Linked DNA regions of Homo sapiens: region 1 is linked to region 2. Evidence: promoter capture Hi-C in 16 types of primary human blood cells and fetal thymus (Javierre and others, 2016). All regions are on one chromosome and are shown on one strand. The core of a region is centred on a gene start or on the middle of the fragment in contact, and the rest is flanking DNA. Distances in the headings are between cores, read along the strand shown. Region 1 holds the start of SMC5 (structural maintenance of chromosomes 5). Region 2 holds the start of C9orf40 (chromosome 9 open reading frame 40).

Region 1 (5,858 bases), core at 279-2,778, 4.7 Mb after region 2:
GTACCTGGCACACAATAGGTGCTTGAAAAAAAAAGGTAGTATTGTTATTACAATTCTGTTATCCTTATGCCACTATGTGCAAGCTTTAAAAAGACTTCCGGCCGGACATGGTGGCTCACGCCTGTAATCCCAGCACTACGGGAGGCCGAGGCGGGCAGATCACCTGAGGTCAAAAGTTCCAGATCAGCCTGGTCAACACGGTGAAACCGCGAGTCTACTAAAATACAAAAAAAAATAGCTGGGCGTGGTGGCGGCTGGCTGTAATCCCAGCTACGCGGGAGGCTGAGGCAGGAGAATTGATTGAAACTGGGAGGCGGAGGTTGCAGTGAGCCGAGATTGCGCCACTACCTTCCAGCCCGGACGACAGTATGACACTCCGTCTCAAAAACAAAAACTAGCCGGGCGTGGTGGCGCGCGCCTGTAGTCCCAGCTACTCGGGAGGCTGACCCAGAAGAATCGCTTGAAACCGAGAGGCGGAAGTTGCAGTGGGCCGAGATCGCGGCACAGCACTCCATCCAGCGTGGGCTACAGGAGCGCAACTCCGTCTCAAAAAAAAAGAGGAAAAAAAAAAAAAAAAAGACCTGGAACAAATGAACTGGAAGGTGCTAGGCAAATACATGATATATTTAAAACTTACTAAATTCTAAAGCGGTAACTAGTTGTCTGAAGGGGAGAGGGAGGAACCAGGGAAGAAAACTGGGTTTAGTGGGGTCAAGGGTTTGTAGGGAGGTCCAACAATTGCCAGTAAGTGTTTAATTTTTTTGTACCTGTAACCTCCATTCCCGAACAACCTTTACCGTCTTATCTACTCCTCTCTGGCAAATGCCTACCCTAAGAATCCGCCACAGCATCACTATCACGCCGAATTAACTGTTGCCTCCTCTTAAGTTCCCGGGGACAATACTTCTGTGAATTCCAGACCAGGGCCGCTATGGATCGCGACTCCCAGCGGGCAGAGACCTACTCCCTCCTACAACCACTACCTGCTACATGACACCTTTGGAAAACCTTGGCTGACTAAATTTAAAAACCACATCACCCAAGGCACACATCTCCTACATCATACACGTCAATCTCCACAGCCTACGTAGGAAAATCCTCAAGGGAACCCCGGCACGAATTCAAGGCCAGACCCACAAGCCAGGTACACACCCACACGCCCACGCCCGCGCGCTGCCGGAGCCCCGGGGCCTGCTGGCCAGCACACCTCCACACCCGCGGCGCGGCCTCCGGGCAACTTACAGGAAGTTCTCCATCGAGATGCGGACGATAGAGCCTTCCACGAAAGGCCCGGACGACTGCAACAGCGGCAGCTGCGGGGCCGAATTCTTCCTCTTGCTCGGGACCTCCGACGAAGGGTCTCTCGGGAGAGCTCTCTTGGAAGGCTGGGGGCTTGGAGTTGACGTCTTCTTGCTCGGAGTCGCCATCCTGGCTTCCTCAGCGTCCCACAGCGACTTCCGTTCCCACCGTCCGGCAGCCCAGGCGCCCAAGCGCCCATCCACCCAGGCGCCCCGCTCCCGCGCGAACTGCCGCGAACTGTTACCGCGCGCTCGCTCCCGCGATCTCGCGCCGCGCCTGCGCAGTTCAGGTCCGGCGACGTCAGCAGGCCCGCCCCGCCCCTCCCGCGCTCCGCCGCGCTGTGCGAGGCCCAGACTGAGGGCGAAACAGCAGGCAGGACTGGGTGGAGACGTTCGGGGACGTGGCAACTGGAGTTTCTTCTCCGTATATTTCGGCATTCAGTTCCTTTTTTTTTTTGTTTTAACTCAGGAAAAAATCTCAATTGCGTTTAGTATTTTGAAAGCCACTTTATTGCTTCCCGAGCCTCAGTCATGTGTGGTGGGAGGCTGCTGTGGGTGGCACCTGGGGCGTCCACGGCCGCCAAGGCGGGAGGACGTCAGGCCCTGCTTGCTCCCACCCCTTCCAGGTGAGAGCTCCCGGGCACGCCCGTCGTTGGCTCTTCGTCCTCTTGGTGTTCTTCCCTGTTGCTTCAAATCAGGTTCCTGTCTCAAAAATCCGAAAAAGAAATCCTCCCAAATGACTCTGTGCCCGACGCTCCGTTAAGGCATCGTGCTAGGCGTTCTCAAACTCGTGAAATGACTACACTGCACAGGTTAACCTCATTGCTACTCTTCCCCTTGCCTCCTAATTCTCTGGTTAAACTTCCGCCCCCGAGGTTTCTAGAAATCCCTGAGCTGGAATGCGCTGCCTTCATTAAGAGGGTGTTCTGCTTCCGTCTGCTCACATTCATCTAGTAAGCCCTCTCGTTAAAGAGGAGGCAGCACACCGAGGCCTGTCTAGAACTTCTTTCATTTAACCAACAGTGAATATCTAATCTACAAGAAACTGGAGCCGTGGCAGTTTAGGAGCCTGCCAAGGTTGCATCCCTGGGAGCTTATTTTCTATTGTGGGAGACAGGAAAAGAACAAGTGAATCAACTGTGAAATTAAATAATTCAAACTTAAAGCTGTTGGAACTTTAAATTATTCTGAGCCTTGCGAAGAATGTGGCGATGGGGCCTGAGTCCCATGGCATACAGCTGCAATGTCTGCCTTGTTTTTTCCTATAATCAGGAAGACCAAACAGAGACAGAGGTAAGACCCCCTCAGATCACTACCCCCTTCATAAATTAATATAGTTATCTTCCTTGGAATGTAGCTATCTATAACTAATCTAATCGCTGTAATTTATGCACTGCTCTTGTATTGAAAATGTACTCCTGCTGAACCTTCTCTGTTTCTGCCTGTGTAAATGAAACCTTAACTTCACTTTGGAACATTGACCCTATTTGTTTGGAGTTGGTGTTTCCAGGTGGCTGTCCTCAAGCTTTGCGTTAGAATAAACTCTATACTTAATGATATTTTCTGAATTTCACTACTTAAGGCTGACACAACAAATGATTAGCATAATGTCAGACTGTGACAGGTGTTAGGAAGAAAACAAAATGAACCTGATGGGTGGGAGGTACGGAAGGCCTCTTAGAGAGGTGGTGGTGTTTAAGATAAACTCTGAAGGACGAGAAGAAACTGTGACGATCTGAGAAAAGAGCACCCCAGGCAAAAGAATTTTGCTGGAACATACCAGTAAGGACAAAAGCTCTGAGGTGGGAAGGCCAGTGTTGCTGCAGAGCAGTGAACAAGGTTGCAGAGCAGAACCTTGTCCATCGTGGAAAAGCCTGAATTTTATTTTTAAAGCAATGGGAAGCCATTGCAAAGTTTTAAGCAGGAGAGGGCCATGTTCTGACTAAAGCTTTTAATTTTTTTATTTGATTTTTTTTATTTGATTTTTTTGAGACAGAGTCTCACCCAGTCGCCCAGGCTGGAGTGCAGTAGTGCCACCTCAGTTCACTGCAAACTCTGCCTCCCTCGTTCAAGCGGTTCTTCTGCCTCAGCCTCCCGAGTAGCTGGGATTACAGGTGCATGCCACCACACCTGGCTAATTTTTGTATTTTTAGTAGAGACGAGGTTTCACCATTTTGGCCAGGCTGGTCTGTAACTCCTGACCTCAAGTGATCCGCCCACCTCGGTGTCCCGAAGTGCTGGCACTACAGGCATGAGCCACTGTGCCTGGCCTTAAAGTTTTTAAATAATAATTCTGGTTGCTGTGTGGAAAATGGATTAGAGGGCACCAAGTGTGGAAGTGGAAGGCCACTTAGAAAGCTATTGCAGTAGATCCCTGATTCCTGACTCCTAGACCAAAGCTCCTTTCCCAGGTCTCTGCTGCTTCCTCTCACACAAGGACTCCGCTCCAGAGAAAATAGAGTAAGTAAAAAGCATGTGAACTTGTCGTAGTTACTGGAAATTTTCTTAAATGCAAATGAAAATGAGAGAGACGGGAAGGAAAAATCATTGAAAAAATTCAGACTGCAGCAGCAGCCTACCTGAAAAGTCACAGCAACAGGCAAAAAATAAAACAACCTTGGGAAAACCTCAGGTTGCACCTGGACAGATAGACAGCTTTAAGCACAGATAAACAAGCACAGGAGTGGGAGAGTCTCGACTTCATACTCATACAATGGGCCCCAGTAAAAACTGTGAGACTTAATAAGTACATTCCTTTCCGTTTAGGCCCACTAAGATACGGAAGCGAGAAGCTTATACAGGGAGGGTTGGGGGATGCCTGCAGCTGCAAGAAAATGTCTGGGAACAGACACAGAAACTTAAGCGACACAAAGCAGCACAGAGCAGCATAAACTAAAAGCCTGCTTATGTGATCAAGGAATTGGGTAAAGGCTGTTAGGAACTCTGCTCTATGCCGATAGCACACCTGGTCCCAACTAAATCTTCAGGCCCTGGGAAGATAAGACACCCCTCCTCACTAGTCCATTTATAAAAACCCTGACGTTTTTACTACAACTTGGCAGTCCAGTCAGACTCCCCTCTCTAATGCAGAGAGCTTCTTTTCTTTCTTTCACTTATTAAACTTTTGCTCCAACCCCACCTTTGTGTCCACGTTCCTTAATTTTCTTGGACGTGAGGACAAAGAACCCAGGGTACTAGTTCAGACAATGAGAAACTGCTACGTTAAGGTGCGTTGGTGAGACTGCAACAAAAATAAAGAATAATTTTTAAACTGTTCAAATGGCGGTGAGTAACGAAAAAACTCAGTGCTCAGGAGGGCACAATACTGTCCTTCCCTGAGTTGCTAGCATGAATTTTTTGAAAAGTAAAGGCTCTGCTTCAAGAGCTGTAGAAAAGTCAGATTGTTTGATGAAGTTACTACATTTAGGGGAATCTACCCTGATGAACAAATAAGAATTATAGACATTAGTAATGGGAGCTGAGGGCAGGGAGCTAGTCATCATTTTTGTACAATGATCAGTCCTTTTTTTTCTTCCCTTTTTTGGCAATCAATAGCAACATTTATTTCCTAGATCCCCCAGGAGAGGGGTAAGGAGCCAAGAAACCCCACATTATAAGACTTGGAGCCTCTGAAGTAGCTGTGTGAATAGCATGATTAAATAATTTCAGATTTTCTGTGTCTTCTTGAGTCAGTTTTAATAGGTTGTGCTTTTCAAGTAATTTGTCCTTTTCATCTAAGTTGTCAAACTTATTACATGAAGTTATGTGTTAATATCCATTAACGTTTGCAGCATCTATAGTGATGCTTCCTCTTTCTCACTTGATACTGGTAAATTGTTCATTTCTTCCTCTCATTTATTAATCTAGTAGAGGTTACGTATGTTTTATTAATCTTTTTAAAGGAACAACTTGATTTTTGCTTTTGTTGACTTTTGATTTCATAATTTCTACTTATCTTCGTAATTAACTTTCTGTTAAAGTTTAATTTGTTCTTTCCCCTCCAGCTTTTTAAAATTTGTTCTTTCCTCCTCAGCTTTTTAAAAATTATTTTTTGAATATATATATATTTGTACATATTAATGGGGTACATGTGCAATTTTGTTACATGCGTATGATATGTAATGATTAAGTTAGGGTATTTATAATGTCTATGTGATGGGTCCCTTTCAAGTCTTCCAGCTATTTTGAAAAATACAATAGATAATTGTTAACTATAGTCACTCTACTGTGCTATCAAACATTAGAATGTATTCCTTCTATGTGATTAGTCTTTAGTGAACTAATCAAATTGTGTTTCTAAACTTGAAATTTTAGAATGAGTCCCTGAACTTGTGATGACTTCACAAATGTAGACACTCTACAAGTTTTAAACAGCTACTCAGTCATGCTGTAACACCATCCTTTTAAAAAGGAAATGTTACTGGTTTTAGCTGTGATTACCATAGCAACACATGTTAAATGCAGAAAATTTGGGAAAACACACAGAAAAACAAACACATGCAAAGGAAAAACTTATAATTCCTCTACCCAGACTAATTGTTAAAATTTTGGTGTATGTTT
Region 2 (5,474 bases), core at 98-2,597:
CTGAGATAGTACCTAGCACTAAAATAGAATTATCTTTCTTGCACACTTTTTCTACAGAGGATGATAGTTTTTCCCTTCAAAGCACTGGTAATAGTCTTATTTTCTTCCTTCCATTTCTGCTTACTTGGTTACTGTCTTTATCAAACTATTAAAATAGTAAATACGACCAGATGCGGTGGCTCACACCTATAAACCAAGCACTTTGGGAGGCCCAGACAGGAGATCGCTTGAGCTCAGTGGGGCCCGGCTGCAGTGAGCCGTGATGGCACCACTGCACTCCCGCCTAGGTGGCCGAGAGAGACCCTGTCTCAAACAAAATAAAAAATAAAAATAATAAAATAGTAAATATACTGCAATTGTCTCCACCTCACTTCACCTGACAACACTATTTTGCTGTAATGGCCATAGAATCTTGATCTGACCACCGCCCATAGTAAGCAGGGAACTCAGCCTTCCAACATTAATTAAGAGCCCAACAATTTTAGGTTTCAGTTAGAAAGGACAGCTGCGCTTCAGGCTTGGTTCTTGCCAACTACTCAGCTATTTTGGATGAGCTGCACATTTTGTCTGTAACTTCCTCCATAAGTTTTTAATCAAGAGATCTTCCAGGAATGTAGGGCCTGCTTCACCTTCCACAGCAGCTGCGCAAAACATGCAAAACATACACTTCGATTTGTGTTTTCTGTTAGCTTTAGCTACTTCCCTCAGCCCAGACTCCCTTCAGTCTTTTGTTTTGAATAACAACCTACTGTGAAGCTTCTTAAACACTAGTTTTATTTAAAGCTTGTATTATCCTTTTCCTTTTTTTTTTTTTTTTTTTTGAGACGGCATCTCGCTCTGTTGCCCAGGCTGCAGTGTAGTGGTGCGATCTCTGGCTCACTACAGCCTCCACCTCCCAGGCTCAAGTGAATCTTCCTCCTCAGCCTCCCGAGTAGCTGGGACCACAGGGGCAGGCCAACAAGCCTGGCCTATTTTTGATTTTTTGTAGAGACGAGGTCTTGCTATGTTGCCCAGGATAGTCTGGAACTCTATTATAATCTTTGTCTTAATCTCATGGAGACGCCCCCGTGGTCACTGACTGGAGGAAGGAAATACACATTTTAAAGGTTTTAAATTTCCTATAGAAGGGTCTAGAACGTACCGCGCTATAACGAACATAGTAGTAAGACCACCGCCACACTCCTGAGGAAACAAGGTCACGCCCCTCTGCGGGCCGCTTGATCGGGTCTTTAATTAATCCCGCCGCGGCCTTCCCGCCTACCCCCGAGCGCGCACTTCCGGTCGCGAGGGCGCTCGGGAGCGCGCCCCGCGAGCCTCCACCAACCAGCGGCTCCGCCTGGCCAGACAGAGTGCGCGCGCGCACGTTGTGCGCAGGTTCGAATCTCCGCCGCTTCGCGGTTGCTTCTCAACGTCCGGGCCGCATCTCGGCGGCGGCGAGGGCTGAGCGCGGGAGCTGCCTCCGAGCCGGAGCCCCAGCCCTAGGCCCTGCGCGAGCTGCCCCGCCCTACCCCCTCCAGCGTCCTGTCGCCTCCTCGCCCGACTTCGGCCTGTCCCTCTCTCACGCGCTCAGTCCTCGCTCTTCGCCCCCCGCAGCTATCGGCACTCGGTCTCCCGCGCCTGGCGGGCTCCGCCCGAGCCTCTGGGCCCATGGCCAAGCGGCGTGCGGCCGAGCCGGTGACGTTCCACGTGCCTTGGAAGCGGCTCCTGCTTTGCGACTTCGCTGAGCAGCCGCCGCCACCGCCTCTCTGGATCCGGCCGCCCGGGGTCGCGCATGCTGGGCAGCTCCTCGGCGTCCCAGAGCAGCACCGAAAGCGCAAAATCGACGCAGGGACCATGGCAGAGCCCTCGGCTTCGCCCAGCAAGCGCCGTGACAGCGGGGACAACAGCGCCCCGAGCGGCCAGGAGCGTGAGGACCACGGTCTGGAGACAGGCGATCCGCCGCTGCCGCCGCCGCCCGTACTGCCGGGGCCGGGGGAGGAGCTCCCGGGCGCCCGGCTCCCGGGGGGCGGTGGCGACGACGGGGCGGGGCGCGCAGGACCCCCGCGGGGAGACTGGGGGGTCGCATCGCGCCAGGTAGGGGCTGGGGGCGGGTGGGCTGAGGGGCGAAGGGGCTTGCCTTTTCCCCACACACACAAAACGCCCCGGTTCCCACTCATGACTTGTGTAGGTTAAGACGCCTGAGGGGGTTGAAAGAAGGGGTCACCGCTCCGGGAGAGGACGCCGACCGCCAGAAGCACACCCCGAGAGTCCGATGGGCAGAAAGCACTGGGCTGGGCGAGGGGGAAACAGACCGTGGTCGGGAGCGATAGAAGTGGCCTTGCGGCGTCAGCGCCGCGCTCCGTAAAAGGGAAACGGGACCGTGGGTCGTGGCGGGCTGTGAGCATGGCGAGAACGCAGACCGTCAGGGCATAGGTTCAGCCCAAAGACAAACGACAGATAAAGGTGTAGAGGGCCTTCCTGGGTTTAACGATGATTAGTCTAGAATTCGGGATAGAGTTCTTTTTCTAGAGGGAGACCAGTGTGGTAGCCATTGATTAATTGAACGTCCTACCGGCTGGTACAGCTTCTGGAGAAAAGGATGGACCACCGTACCTTGGTCAAAGCTTTGTTTTAACTCATAGTGTTAAATCTGATCCTAGGCAAAAGTATCATTGAAAATTAATTTGGGGGCGGGGCGTGGTGTCTCACGCCTGGAATCCCAGGACTTTGGGAGGCCACGGCGGGTGGATCACCTGAGGTCGGGAGTTCGAGACCAGCCTGGCCAATAGGGTGAAACTCTGTCTCTATTAAAACACAAAAACTAGCTGGGTGTGGTGGTGTATGCCCGTAATCACAGCTACTCGGGAGGCTGAGGCACAAGAATCACTTTAACCTGGGAGATGGCGGTTGCAGTGAGCTGAGATTGGGCCAGTGCACTCCAGCCTGGGCCACAGAGTGAGACGCTGTCTCAAAAAAAAAGAAAAGAAAAGAAAGAAAAAAGAAAATTAATTTGGGCCTTAAGGCGTATATGAGAATCATTGGCGGGTTTTTATTCAAGACATGAGCCTGCCTCATCTCTGCATGTAAGAATCCTGAGAAGATCTAGGTATGCCTCGGTTTGCCTAGATCTCTGCTGCCCGGCCGCTAGCCGGTAAGAACACTTGAAACGTGACTAGTCCAAATGGAAATGTGCTCTAAGTTTAAAATATACACGAAATTTCGTGGATTTAATAAATGAAGATAAAATAGCTCAATTTTATATTGATTACACATGAAATAACTTGGCTATATTGAAGAAAATATATTAAAATTAATACCAGAAGTTTCTTTTACTTTTTAAATACAGCTACTAGAAAATTTTAAATTATGTTTTTGGAGCATTATATATTTATTGGACAGCTTTGGTCTAGACTTAGGAATTCATACTACTTTTTCACAATCCTGAATGGCAGGGGACTTGGGAGATGAAGAACCAAGTACAGGTTTCTCAGAATTCACCAAATTCTCTTCAGCTGTCTGATAGCATCCTCCCAACGTTTTTCTATTTTCTCAAGTATCTTATGTCAGGGTTTTCAAATACCTTTCCAAAAAAATAAATGAAATTTCTTAGGCATGACTTGTTCATGTGAAAAATCCAATAAAATAACGAGAGTTTTATAGTTGGGAAAGACTTTTTTTTTTTTTTTCCTATGGTTGAAACATGAGCCTTATTTAAACTTTTTCTTCAGATTGCTCTCAGATATTCAAAATCAACTGAAAACAGATGGATAGTCTTCTAAACCATCCATCCATAATGGATATGGAGATTAGGGACTGTGTAGTTTGAAAACTTTTTGAAAGCTCTTCAGACCATTTTAGTACTCCACTCATGCATAGGCTTGTCTCCTACCAGAATACAGAATACACTGTCTATACTATGCCACACAGTGATAAGAGGGAAATATGGAAATGGCAGTAGGCAAAGCGTAAGAGTTCTCTAGTAGCCTGAAACGGTGATGCTTGCTTAGTCTTAGACTCAACTCTTTTCCCCCACAGCAGTAACTAGATCTGGCAGCTCTCTACTTCCTATAGTCGCTGCAAGCGCATGACAGGGAAAAAGGTTGGCTCCAGGGGTTCTTTCTTCACCAAGACTACCCTTGTTCTCTTTGTTGTTTTTTAAAAAAGGGTCTTGGGGTCTCGCTCCCATGCCCAGGCTGGAGTGCAGTGGCACCATCCCAGCTCACTGCAACCTTAGCTTCCTGAATAGTTGGGACTGCAGGTGCACACCACCACGCTGGACTAATTTTTTTTTTTTTGTGGAGATGGGGTTTTGCCATGTTACCCAGGCTGGGCTCAAGTGATCCTCCCGCCTCTGCCTACCAAATAGCTGGGATTACAGGCGTGAGCCACTGTCAGGCCCTCTTTTGAGGAAAGCCCAGTAACACTCCTATTCCTTCTTTTTGTTAGATTTGTTCTGGAGGCGCTTCTCTTTTACAATCATGCTCTCTCCAGCTTCTGTTTCTCCTTCCTGCCTCCAAAGACACAGGCTTTTTGTTTTAAGGATTTTATACCTGATTACCAAGGGAAAATTGAATATAACAAAAAGAAGTAAACAGTTCAATACAGTAAATGCCTGGTTTCTTTTGTGCTCAGAATAGGGCTTAAGTCCCAGCCCTCACCCTTGGGACTTCATTTAGGAAATACTACCTCAAATACCTTTTTTCTACATTGAGAATACAATCTAGGCAGGATAATGTTACGTCATTTCTGTCCCGGAACTTCAGGGTATTTCCTGTTTCAGATGTTTTTTGACTACAGAAATAAAATCAGGTATTCATTAAATATTCATGTATTTTTTTCATGTTAGTGTCACTATGTAGATTCACTGCTCTGTCAGTGTTAACTGTTAGTTTCTTGTTTATTTGTTTGTTTTTCATAAATTGAGATGGAGTCTTGCTTTGTTGCCAGGGCTGGTCTCAAACTCTGGGGCTCAAGCGATCCTTCTGCCTCCCAAAGTGCTGGGATTACAGGTGTAATCATGCCCAGCCAACTGTTAGATATTCTTAACAGAAAGTAAGCAGAAATGCTCTAAGGAGACAGTGATTAATGATTCATAGGCTTATTGGGATATAATACCTAGCAATATTGAGCAATTACTATGCCAAGCCTGAATTTTTACAACAGTCCTCCATTTTATCAATAAGGTCAAGATCAGAGTTAGTGGGCGGTGGAGTTATCTTGCAAACCCAGGTCTGTCTGGTGGCAAAGTTTGTGTGCCCTTAGTCACTATGTTTTACTAACATAATTAAAAGACCTTTTTTTGGTCCATGTTTATAAGTAGATAATTTGTACAGTAGATTTTCCAAAATATTAAAGTGAAATTTTTCTTAATATCTTTTGACTTATTGTGTGTTTATCCCAATATTAAGAAATTCCCCCAAAACTTAATTCTTTAAGGCTCAGCATAGAAGACAGTGAACTTCCTAATGAGACTTTCTTACAGACCTGTGCTGTCC

The links. The method cuts DNA at HindIII sites, captures the fragments that hold promoters and counts their contacts. A CHiCAGO score of 5 or more calls a contact.
Region 1: a contact is called between the fragment with the promoter of SMC5 here and the fragment with the promoter of C9orf40 in region 2, in 1 of 17 cell types (total B cells). The highest score is 5.7, in total B cells.

The regions. Positions count from the first base shown.
Region 1 is chr9:70,254,648-70,260,505 of GRCh38, reverse strand. SMC5 (structural maintenance of chromosomes 5) reads right to left here and starts at 1,528. Exons shown (of 25, transcript NM_015110.4): 1 at 1,243-1,528. The coding sequence starts at 1,427. It overlaps SMC5-DT (SMC5 divergent transcript), which reads left to right and starts at 1,632. Exons shown (of 4, transcript NR_039990.1): 1 at 1,632-2,110; 2 at 2,571-2,591. RefSeq lists enhancers at 1,242-1,441, 1,772-1,961 and a silencer at 1,482-1,701. The HindIII fragment of the contact is 2,740 bases long and covers 86-2,825 here.
Region 2 is chr9:74,948,785-74,954,258 of GRCh38, reverse strand. C9orf40 (chromosome 9 open reading frame 40) reads left to right here and starts at 1,347. Exons shown (of 2, transcript NM_017998.3): 1 at 1,347-2,073. The coding sequence starts at 1,648. It overlaps CARNMT1-AS1 (CARNMT1 antisense RNA 1), which reads right to left and starts at 1,294. Exons shown (of 5, transcript NR_121183.1): 1 at 1,142-1,294. RefSeq lists silencers at 1,366-1,575, 1,846-2,055 and an enhancer at 2,386-2,455. The HindIII fragment of the contact is 1,820 bases long and covers 786-2,605 here.